Linked DNA regions of Homo sapiens: all the other regions are linked to region 3. Evidence: promoter capture Hi-C in human tissues and cell types (Jung and others, 2019). All regions are on one chromosome and are shown on one strand. Each heading gives the region's core, a stretch centred on a gene start or on the middle of the fragment in contact. The rest is flanking DNA. Distances are from core to core; before and after follow the strand shown. Region 1 overlaps VIPAS39 (VPS33B interacting protein, apical-basolateral polarity regulator, spe-39 homolog). Region 2 has its middle 4.6 kb from the start of SPTLC2. Region 3 holds the start of ZDHHC22 (zDHHC palmitoyltransferase 22).

The links. Contacts are between HindIII fragments. The study calls those that stand out against the background at their distance.
Region 1: a fragment that was not itself captured here is called in contact with the fragment with the promoter of ZDHHC22 in region 3 in 1 of the 25 tissues and cell types used here (dorsolateral prefrontal cortex).
Region 2: a fragment that was not itself captured here is called in contact with the fragment with the promoter of ZDHHC22 in region 3 in 1 of the 25 tissues and cell types used here (dorsolateral prefrontal cortex).

What each region holds. Positions count from the first base shown.
Region 1 is chr14:77,450,199-77,454,052 of GRCh38, reverse strand. VIPAS39 (VPS33B interacting protein, apical-basolateral polarity regulator, spe-39 homolog) reads left to right here. Exons shown (of 20, transcript NM_001193315.2): 2 at 1-43; 3 at 652-754; 4 at 2,720-2,866. Among named protein-coding and RNA genes, the nearest start is that of VIPAS39, 5.5 kb to the left of the region's middle. The HindIII fragment of the contact is 5,877 bases long and covers 1-3,854 here.
Region 2 is chr14:77,619,541-77,622,943 of GRCh38, reverse strand. No RefSeq gene overlaps it. Among named protein-coding and RNA genes, the nearest start is that of SPTLC2, 4.6 kb to the right of the region's middle. The HindIII fragment of the contact is 4,035 bases long and covers 73-3,403 here.
Region 3 is chr14:77,139,709-77,143,495 of GRCh38, reverse strand. ZDHHC22 (zDHHC palmitoyltransferase 22) reads left to right here and starts at 1,705. Exons shown (of 3, transcript NM_174976.2): 1 at 1,705-1,893; 2 at 3,744-3,787. The coding sequence starts at 3,758. RefSeq lists enhancers at 1,591-2,092, 2,187-2,750, 2,751-3,314, 3,452-3,787. The HindIII fragment of the contact is 26,670 bases long and covers 1-3,787 here.

The DNA.
Region 1 (3,854 bases), core at 823-3,322, 310 kb before region 3:
CAAGGCTTTTACCTTTGACGATGAAGACGATGAGCTTTCACAGGTAGGTCAACTGCTGAAGTTTGTACTCTTCTCCACAGTGCCACTATAAAATTCCTTCCTCTTGCATTCTGGGTAACTAGGCTTTTGACCATGTATGTCTTCATTAGGCTCAGAAAAGAGCCAGAAGGATTGTAAAATCCAGCTCACTGCCTTTCTTACTTTACCTTTTTAAGATGATTTATTCCTACAGGTTTTTTTTTCTTTTGAAGAACCCCAAGTCTTTTATTTATGTGATATATATTTTTTTATTTTTGAAAGATGAACTGGATTGGAAGATTTATCTTTGTTGTGTCTATTTTGCAATTGAGGAATCATTTATTTTTAGAGAGGTGAATAAATTCACTCAGGTTTACATAGCAAGTCACTGCCAGGAATATGATGAGAATTCAAAAGTGACTTTGATTCCTCCTAACTCTTTTATCACTGGACTGTAGTGTTGGCTAAAAATCAGTTTGTTTTCTTGGCAAATATGTAGTATGCTAGGCTTTCGATTGCACAGGGCGAGTGTTGGCCACCTTCAGGCCCCAATTCCTCAGCCTTCTTGATTGTCAGAAGAGAGGTGGGAAATGATGATTTGCCTGAGCACCCTAGCCTTGTGTCCCTCTGCAGTTAAAGGAGTCCAAGCGGGCGGTGAACAGCCTCCGAGACTTCGTGGATGATGATGACGATGATGACCTGGAGCGAGTCAGCTGGAGTGGGGAACCTGTGGGAAGTAAGTAGAAGAGTCCCTAGGCAGGGATAGATGTTGAGGATTCTTATCACTGATAAAGGCTCTACTTGTTTGTTTCTTCAATGCTAGTTAGGAGAGGGACTAGGATAAGACTATTTTCAGATAAGCATACATCTGGAAACTTAACTCCAGGAGAAGATACTTGGGAAATCCAGCAGGAGTTCCCACATGGCTATATAGGTCTGCTCTTCAGGGGTTGACTCTTAGCTGGCTATTTCATTCTCATTTGGGGTGCTTGTTAAAATGACATACTCCTAGGCTTTATCCCAGAGATTCTGTTCATTAGGTCTTCTGCGGAGTAGAGGGGGTCTCAAATTTTAATAAACACTGCAGGTGATTCTGATATATAGCCATATTTGGGAACTACTGACTTGACTCAGTATACTAATAACTGATTGACAGAACGGACTTCCTTACCCACCAAGTCTCACTGCTTAGCTGTATATGATACCACTTAATACTTTTTCAGAGTCCATTTGATTTTTTTTTTTTTTTTTTTTTGAGATGGAGTCTTACTCTGTTGCCTAGTCTGGAGTGCAATGGCGCGATCCTGACTCACTGCAACCTCCGCCTCCCAGGTTCAAGCGATTCTCATGCTTCAGCCTCCCTAGTAGCTGGGATTAAAGGTGCCAACCACCATGCCTGGCTAATTTTTGTATTTTTAGTAGAGATGGAGTTTTACCATGTTGGCCAGGCTGGTCTTGAACTGCTGACCTCAAGTGATCCGCCTGCCTTGGCCTCCCAAATGCTGGGATTATAGGTATGAGCCACCATCCCTGGTCCCCATCTGATTTTTAAGAAATATTTTTAATTGAAAGTTTTTAAAAAATAGGCCATACTATAATGTGACTAAAGATTAAAAAAAAAAAATTAAAGGTCTACAGTGAAAAGTTTCCGTTCCATATTGTTATGTATCTTCTCAGTTTTCAGTTCATGTCCTCCCAAAAAACAATCGTTGCTTGGTTCCTGTGTATTCATCTAAAGACTCTTTTTGCATCTGGAAAAGTATATAGAAACATGTATTCTTATCCCATTTTTACACAAGCAGTAGCATGCTTCATACCTTGCTCTTTTTATGTGTTAATATAGCTTGGAGATCTTTCCATGTCAGTATATAAAGAGTGTTCTCATTTTCTCTTTCTTTTTTTTAAATAGCAGCATAGTATTAAATTGTATGGGTTTACCATCATTTTTTAGCCAGCCCACTGTTGAATTTTAGATTTTTCAATCTTTTGCTCTTTATATTTCTATCATTGACTTTATATTCTGACCATAGATGCATAAATGAAAGAGCAATTCTTAGAGTGGAATTACTCACATAGGATGTTTGCATCTGTATTGGGTAGATATTGCCAAATTGACCTCCACAGGGGTTGTACCAATTCATACTACCACCAGCAATGGAGGAGGGTTCCAGTTTCCCTATAGCCTGGCTAACACGGTATTATCAAGCTTTTGGATCTTTCCCCATCTTATAGGGGACTAATGGTTTCTCATTATATTTTTAATTTGTAGTACTCTTAGCAAAGCTGGGGGCAGGTGGTGTGTGCCTCTGGAGGGTAGTGGCGATGGATGGCTTGAGGCCAGGAGTTGAGGCTGACGTGAGACATGACTGTTAGATATGATTGTGAATAGCCACTGTACTCCAGAGCTCCGGCAATGTAGTGAGACCCTGTCTCTAAAAAAAAAGAAAAAAAGAGAAAAAAGAGTAAGGTTGAGCATCTTTTCATATGTTGAAGAGCCATTTGAATTTTCTGTGATCCACCTATTCATGTCCTTGGTCCATTTTTCTGCTGATTAGTCTATTTGATTCTATCTTTTCTCCCTGCCCCAAGTTGGCCAAGGGACCAGGGCTTCTGGTGAAAAGCTTTTAGAGTTTATTGAATGTTGGATGTCAAGGCTTTATTGTGGATGAGAATTGCTGATGTAGTTCTTACTATCTCACAGGTATCTCATGGTCCATCAGAGAGACTGCTGGTAATAGCGGCTCAACCCACGAGGGGCGTGAACAGCTAAAGAGCCGAAACAGCTTCTCCTCCTATGCACAACTACCCAAGCCTACTTCTACCTACTCCCTGAGCAGCTTTTTTAGAGGTAAAGAGAGATGCTTAAATGGATAGGGAAGTCCTTCTCTTTTTCCAGAAAAATCTTAGGCCATAATTTTCATTTACTTTGTAAGAAAAAGATTATTGAAGGGTAAAGCATTCTCATTGGAGGTGGCAGCTGGGTGTTAGGAGCGAGATAAATGAGAGAAATTCAGAGGAGTTGGACTGGTTTTCTATAGCATGATGAATGAAATTGACATTAACCCTGTGACTGGTACTGAAAAAATTTGCCTAGATCAAAATTCCTCCCTACTCCTTGTGCATTGCTGTTGGAAAACCTTGTTGGTGGGAATGCCAAATGGTGCAGCCACCGTGGAAGACAGTATGGTGGTTTTTTAAAAAAAATTAAACAGTAAACATATAACTGGCTAGGCGTGGTGGCTCACGCCTGTAATCCCAGCACTTTTGGGAGGCTGAGGCAGGTGGATCACCTGAGGTCAAGAGTTCTAGACCAGCCTACCAATATGGTGAAACCCCGTCTCTACTAAAAATACAAAAATTAGCCGGGCATGGTGGGGGCTTCTGTAATCCCAGCTGCTCAGGAGGCTGAGGGAGGCAGATTGCTAGAACCTGGGAGGCAAAGGTTGTAGTGAACCGAGATTGCACTACTGCAGTCTAGCCTGGGTGACAGAGCAAAACTCCATCTCAATAAATAAATAAATAACATATGATCTAGCAATTTTACTTCTGGGTATATCTCAAAAAGAATGGAAAGCAGGTACTTGAACATATATTTGTACCTCCATGTTGATAGTAGCATTATTCACAATAGCCAAAAGATGGAAACAACCCAAATGTCCATTGATGGATGAATGGATAAACAAAATGTGCCATATACATGCAGCGGAATGTTACTCAGCATTAAAGAAGAACGACATTCCCATACATGCTGCCATATGGATGATCCTTGAGGATGTGATACTAAATAAAATGAGGCACAAAGGGACAAATATTGTATGACTCCATTTACGTATGAC
Region 2 (3,403 bases), core at 841-3,340, 480 kb before region 3:
ACTCAGAGTCTTGGCTAACACCACCACCATTAATCTGCATCACCATCTCCTCTCCTCCCTCTTGAAGCCAGAAGTAAAAGTCCACTTGCTTCCTGGAGCAGAACCTGAAATGATTGCAACATTCAGCCAGGTGAGTGCCCAGAGGAAGTCCAGGGTGGCAGTGTGGGGTGTGGTGGAGGAAGCTCTCAGGTGCTTCTGGAGCAGAGGTAACTCAAGGGCAGAGACCTGCCATTGAGACATAAGCTCTGGCTGCCCATTCCTGGAGCACTCATCTGTATTATTGCAGAACTCCCATTGCAAACGCTTTGTTGGGTACAGATTAAAATCTCTACTAAGTGCTTAGCTGGCACCCTGGAGGTGTATAATCAGAAACCATCATTCCTCTTAAAGCTTCATGTTTGCATGCAAACATTCATTTAAATAGCTCAGGCCTCAGGGTCATAATGCAATTCTAAACTCTTGTCCCAGGACCTGCCCAGTTTTGTGGATGCAAATATTGCCACTGAAAATAGTCCAAAAACAGCATCCAAGATTTTCCACAAAAGTAGGATCAGAAACCCAGGGAGAGAATTAGTCTATTTCACTTACTCTATTAGATTAGGAATAATGAAAGGGGAAAGAGCAGACGCATTTCTTGTAAATCAAGACTGAAAGCTCTACAAGTGCAAATACCATGTTTCTTTCTATTTGTCATTGTATTTGCAGTACCCAACATGATGGCCAGCAAAAAATACTTGTGTGATTGGCCTAATAGATAAATGAATGAATGAAGCAAGAAAAGTTTGAAAAGGGAAGACCAGGCCAGGCATGGTGGCTCATGTTTGTAATCCCAACACTTTGGGAAGCCAAGGTGGGTGGATCACTTGAGGTCAGGAGTTCAAGACCAGCCTGGCCAGGATGGCAAAACCCCGTCTCTACTAAAAATACAAAAATTAGCTGGGCATGGTAGCATGCACCTGTAATTCCAGCTACTTGGGAGATACAAGAATCGCTCAAACCCAGAAGGCAGAGATTGCAGTGAGCTCAGATCACACCACTACACTCCAGCCTGGGCAACAGAGTGAAGTTCCATCTCAAAAAAGAAAAAAAAGAAAAGAAAGAAAGAAAAAGAAAAGGGAAGACCAAATGATGCTCTCAGAGTCAGGTTCAAATAATACCTCTGCATCATCTATCTCTGGTTTTTGTGCAAAAGCAGATTACTTCTGAAGGGCCCTTTCCATTCCATCTTGTGGTTCTTCTTTTTTTTCTTTTTTCTTGAGATGGGGTCTTGCTATGCTGCCCAGGCTGGTCTTGAACTCCTGCGCTCATGTGTTCCTCCTGCCTCAGCCTCCTGAAGAGCTAAGATTACATGTGCCTACCACAATACACAACTCTATCTTGTGATTCATCTGCAGCCTTGACTGATATAAAGGACATTGGCCATTTCTGCCTGCCCAGTGTCCATTCCCTTTTTCTATTAAGTCCCCCATTTCCCTTTGGGAAATCATCTCTTCTCATTTAACGTACTCTTCTTAAGAGGGTGTGTCTTGGTAAGCACCTCCCATCATGAAAGGTGAAGGACACTTTTTCCTTTTGTTTGCACCTTTTAGGACCAGTGCGACGTAAACTCAAACAAGCAGATATTCTCTCCAGTATTTGACTCTTGACCAAGTGACCCAACAATGGAAGGGGTAGTTAGAAGTCATTTATTTTGGCAGGGGTGTTGCTAAGAGAAAAAATTCAAAGAAATTAAATTTAGACCGGGCACAGTGGCTCGCGCCTGTAATCCTAGCACTTTAGGAGGCCTAGGTGGGTGGATCGCCTGAAATCAGGAGTTCAAGACCAGCCTGGCCAATGTGGTGAAACCCTGTCTCTATTAAAAATACAAAAATTAGCCAGGTGTGGCGGCGGGAGCCTGTAATCCCAGCTACTTGGGAGGCTAAGGCAGAAGAATCACTTGAACCCAAGAGGCAGAGGTTGCAGTGAGCCGACATCGTGCCATTGCGCTTCAGCCTGGGCAACAGGAGCGAAACTCCATCCTAAAAAAAAAAAAAAAAGAAAAGAAAAGAAAAGAAAAGAAAAAAAGAAATAAATTAAATTTAACAGAATTTAACTGAGCAAATAATGATCCTCAAATTGGGCAGCCCCCATCCAGAATCAGAAGGTTCAGAGAGATTCCAGCACTGTCACATGGTGAGACAGGATTTATGAATAGAAAAAGGAAAGCAACATACAGAAAACAGAAGTGAGACACAGAAACAGTTGGAATGGTTATAGCTTGGCATTTGCCTTATTTGAACACTGAACAGTTGGCTGCCTGTTGAGTGGTTGAAGTATGGCTTCTGTGATTGCCTGAGGCTTGGCTACTTGTTTGGGTTTTTTGTTTGTTTGTTTTTGTTTTTGAGACGGAGTTTTGCTCTTATTGCCCAGGCTGGAGTGCAATGGCGCGATCTCGGCTCACTGCAACCTCCACCTCGCGGGTTCAAGCGATTCTCCTGCCTCAGCCTCCCGCCCGCCACCACGCTGGATAATATTTTTGTATTTTTAGTAGAGATGGGGGTTTCACCATGTTCGCCAGTCTGGTCTCGAGCTCCTGACCTCAGGTGATCCGACCCCCTCGGCCTCCCAAAGTGCTGGGATTATAGGTGTGAGCCACTGCACCCGCCAGCCTCCTTCTTTAACATCCATTCTAAGCTATTGCTATTTGTCCTTTTCACTCCCGGGTTCTATCTCCTTGTAGTGAACACTGTTAGGGTTGTTCCTCCCTTCTCTGCTATGATTCTTCCTTGTCTATAACTGATTCCTCCCCTCCAGCAGTTTGACCTTGTGCTCTGGCCATTGCGATTGGTCAGATTTACCCATCCTCACCATAAGCTAGGCCAATCAGATTTCTTTTTCCTGAGAGTGTAGAAGTTTGACCTCATGAATATGAAAGTTGTAGGTTGTTGAGAGCTAAGCACCAGAAGTGGTTTGGTTAGGAGGAAGGAAGGTCTATAATTTTCTGCTGCTGAGGTTTAGGATTTTCCTGAGTGCCAACACTTCCCTGTCTTCAGGAGAGTTCCAATAAATTTACCTTTCTTGAATAAGTTTTTTAAAATTGGCTTATGTTATCTGCAACCAAAGAACCTCAATTAACACAGTCTCCATGTGATAGAAGGTTCCTTGGAGACAAGGCCAAAATTTTTTTTTTTTTTTTTTTTTGAGACAGAGTCTCTCTCTGTCACCCAGGCTAAAGTGCAGTGGCACAATCTCGGCTCACTGTAACCTCTGCCTCCCAAGTTCAAGCAAGTCTTGTGCCTCAGCCTCCAAGTAGCTGAGATTACAGGCATGTGCCACTACGCCCGGCTAATTTTTGTATTTTCTGGAGAGACGGGGTTTCACCATGTTGGTCAGGCTGGTCTCGAACTCCTGGCCTCACGTGATC
Region 3 (3,787 bases), core at 456-2,955:
CAGATTCAGACACACACCTTCCCACCTCACACCCATATGCAAAATAAAATTAGAAATACCACCCGACTCACAAGGTATTTGGGGAATGGAGATCTTCAGTCAGTATACCCAAACCCAAGCACCCCAGCCAGCCTCCCTCCCTGCCAAGCCCATGTGAGAGGCAGACAGAGCTTGTGAAAAGGGGCCCAGACGGCCACGATTATGAGACAAAGCTGCTCTGAAGGGAAAAGGGCCATGTGTGCCTCCCCATGTCTGTCCTGTGGCCACTGGAACTCACAAGGCTACCAGCTGCTCACGGCCACCATGTGGCATATACTGTTCTTTCACTTACATGTCAGATCCTTTTAGAATGTGAAAAGGTTTCCTGGCCTCTTTTTTATTTTGATGTATGCTGATAAATTACAGAGGAAACAGTGTGTGGTTATTCAAGAATAGAGGCTGAGCTGATCAGCATATGGCCCTCATTTCAAGGGATTGCTCTTGTTTTAATCAGCCAGTTGAGAAAGCAATAAATGTTTATTTATTAAGTATGCCATCACCGAGAGGAGAGGAACAGGGCAGGTAGGTGAGCTGCGACACCCAGGAAATTGAGGATGGTGATGGCACCAATATTCCTGCAGTGTTTGATGTTTTTAAGGCTCTGCTCCCCCCACCCCCCACTGTTTGATACACATTGGTGTCACTACCCTCTTGGCGCATCACAGTACCCACCTTAGAATAGCGGAGCCCTGGAAGGGGAAGGAAATAGAAATAAGAAGGTGGGGGTGAGGCTCAAAGAAGAAGCTCCAAGTTCAAGCTCTGTGTCTGGATAAACTCCCATTGTCTTTCCTTCTCTCAAATCAGAGCTGCCCGTGGGTCCCAGGGTGATGCTGGGCTGTGTAGAGGCTGAGTGCAGGAGCATTAATGCTAGAACCAGGTTCAAGTCCAGGCTCTGTCACTTAATGGCTGTATGACCTTAGACATGAGACTTAGCTTCTCTGAGCTTCAACCTCCTCATCTCCAGAATGGGGCTCAGCCAGCTTCACAGATCAGGCTGAGAGGATTAAGGAAGCATCTTATGCTAAAGGCTTAGCACAATGCCTGCTACCTAGTAGGGGCCCGATAAGTAGTGTCTAATTATGATCTAATCAAGCAGTGCTTGCCCTGGGCAGGCCCTGTTTAAGGGTTTTACATAGATTGTCATTTAACCCTCATATCTCTATTTCACAGATGAGGAAACTGGAATCTAAGATCACACTGGAATTTACAGACGAAGAAACTGGAATCTGAGATCTCACAGTAGTGAATGGTGAATATTCAAACCCAGGTAGACAGGCTCCAGAGTCCCAACTCCCAACCCTCTGTACACAGCCCTTCCGAGGAGATGACGCTGATCTTCATGGGTGTTGCCCTGGCAAGCTGACCTCTCAAGCCCCCAGGGTTCCTTCAGTCCGAGTGGAGAGCAGGGAAGGTCGTGGGACCTAGCCGAGAGGGAAGGGCAGGATGATGGCTGGAGAATCCACATCAGGGCTGAATCCCAATCTCCCAGCTGGAACGGGCGCTGAAACCAGGCAGGGCGCCCCAGCCCGCTCAAGGGGAATCGAGAGGGGAGGAGGGGGCAAGTCCACGATGCTGAGACTGGCGGCCAGAGCACCGCCCCCAGGAGCGGAGGGAGGGGTGGCGGGGCTGGGGGGTGCCCAGCTGCCATCCCCGCCGCTTCCTGGCCCTTACTCGCTGGCGCCCAAGTGGGAAGCCAGCAGCTGCCCGCTCCCTCCTCCCCACATCCCCGCTACTTGCCCAGTTCCCGAAGCGAAGCGCAGGCTGCGAGCCAGCCGGGCCGAGTCCACAACTTTGCAGCCTCGGGCAGGGCGAGAGCCGGCGTCCGGGGCTCCTCTTGTCGGCGACCAGAGCTCGGTGAGTTGATTTCCTCACCCCTCTGCGACGGCGGCAGTGCGGCGGCGGCGGCGCGGGGGGCGGCTTCCCGTGCGTCCGGGAGGCAGTGGCCGAGAAGCCCGCGGCTGCCGGCGCTGCCGGTCTTTCCAAGGCTCCGGCTGTGCCGCCCTCTGCCGCGGGCGAGGCGGGCGCCAGGGCTGAACGGACAGCTCCCTACACCCCGGGGCCCCACGGGCGGTCTCTGCTGTCCCTTCTCCCGCGCAGGGCCAGGGCTGAGGCTGCCTGCCGAGCGCCCCTCACTCCCCTAGCCCCTGTCCTTCGCCGCCTTCCCAGCGCTGCGGCGCATCTGGCTGCTCCCGCGCCCCCCTGGCGACCGGCGCCGGGAAGGCACTTGCTTCGCCGGAGCCCCAGGCCGAGGGCTCTCTGGGGTGGGCAGCACCGCCGCAGCCCCCGGCGGCGCAGGACTGGGGGCGTGCCCAGCCCCCGGCGACCACCCTCAGGCGTGCACTGCGCTGCGCCCCAGCGGTAGGGAGAGGCCCACGCTCTCCGCGGAGGCTGCGGGTTCCCGGGGGGCGCTGGGACCTGCAAAGGGGATTCCAAGGTGACCAGTCGACCCGTGCGGACGGGACAGCCTGGACGGAGGCCCCGTGGCATCCACCCATCCTAGGTGCAACCGCCTTCCCAGAACTTTTCTCGCGCCTCCGGCTGGCCGATTCCTTAGCCCCTGGAAAAGTTCTCTCGGGCGCACGGAATCCTATTTCTCGGTGGCTTCCGAAGCTGGCCAGGAACCCCGGCTGTGAGGCGTGGGGTGGGATGGGGACGTGGTGAGGGCTGAGCACGGCGGCGGGGTCGATCCCAGGAAAGGCTGGCCAAGCATCCACTCGTGCGCCCAGGGCGGGCTTGTCGGCATGGAAAGGATTTCGGCGCCATGAGGGTTGTTTGGGTTTCTCTCAGCAGGAGGGCGGGAGGCGGGCGCGAAGGGGGGATTTTAATTTCGCCTCAAATGAAAACGCTCTTCGCAAAGAAATAGCCCGGGCAGCCAGCGTTGGAGAGATGTGCTGGCCAGGACCCGCTGACACAGGTATTCTGGTTGCGCCCCCACCTCACCCGGTGCCCGAGAGCGAGTGTGAGTGTATCGATTGTTTCAATTGATTTTTTTAAAGCTAGATAGCAGAGGCTGCGTGTCTGTACACGCAGATATATACATACACAAATACAGATACTCAAGCGCACACAGATTACACGTACAGAGTCACAGACAAGGACACACACACACACATCGTGGTCCCTCACGCACACATACCTCCAAAGAGCCTTGGGTAACCTGGTGAGGTCCCTGAGTGCTGCCCAAGATGTGTGTGTGGGTGGGGACGCAGGGACGGAGAAAGGGGAGTGTGAAGCAGGATTTCCAGCAGGTCAAGTGCCGCTGATTCTCCTGCCCCCGACCCCAAATCCTTCCCTTTCTCCTCCTAGGGAGGTCTGAACCAGAAATCCCAAACCTGGGCTTGTTTCCACATCCACAGAGGGGAGGAGTCCTATCCCCCGGTGCCCCCCACCCTCACAACTCCTAAAGACTGCAAACGAGTCCCTCCCTCCTGTGCCAGACTCTGCCGCGCCAAGGCGCCGAGCTCGCTCAAAACCCCAGGCAACACTCACCCCCAGGTGGGGCCTAGACCCGAGGCCGCTGCGGGCTCGGGTCTCTGGCCTGCCTGATCCGGGGTTAGGGAACTGGGGAGGGGAAATCCGCGGGACAGGGGGTTGGGGGCGTGGAGTCGCGTGCAGTGCCCCAGACGCGCGGCACGGAGGAGCGGGCGAGGGCGCCCCCTGGACGCCGTAGTCAGTCAGTCCTCTTCTCACCCCGGGCCCCGCAGGAATGTAATCGAGGATGCTGGCCCTGCGGCTGCTCAACGTGGTG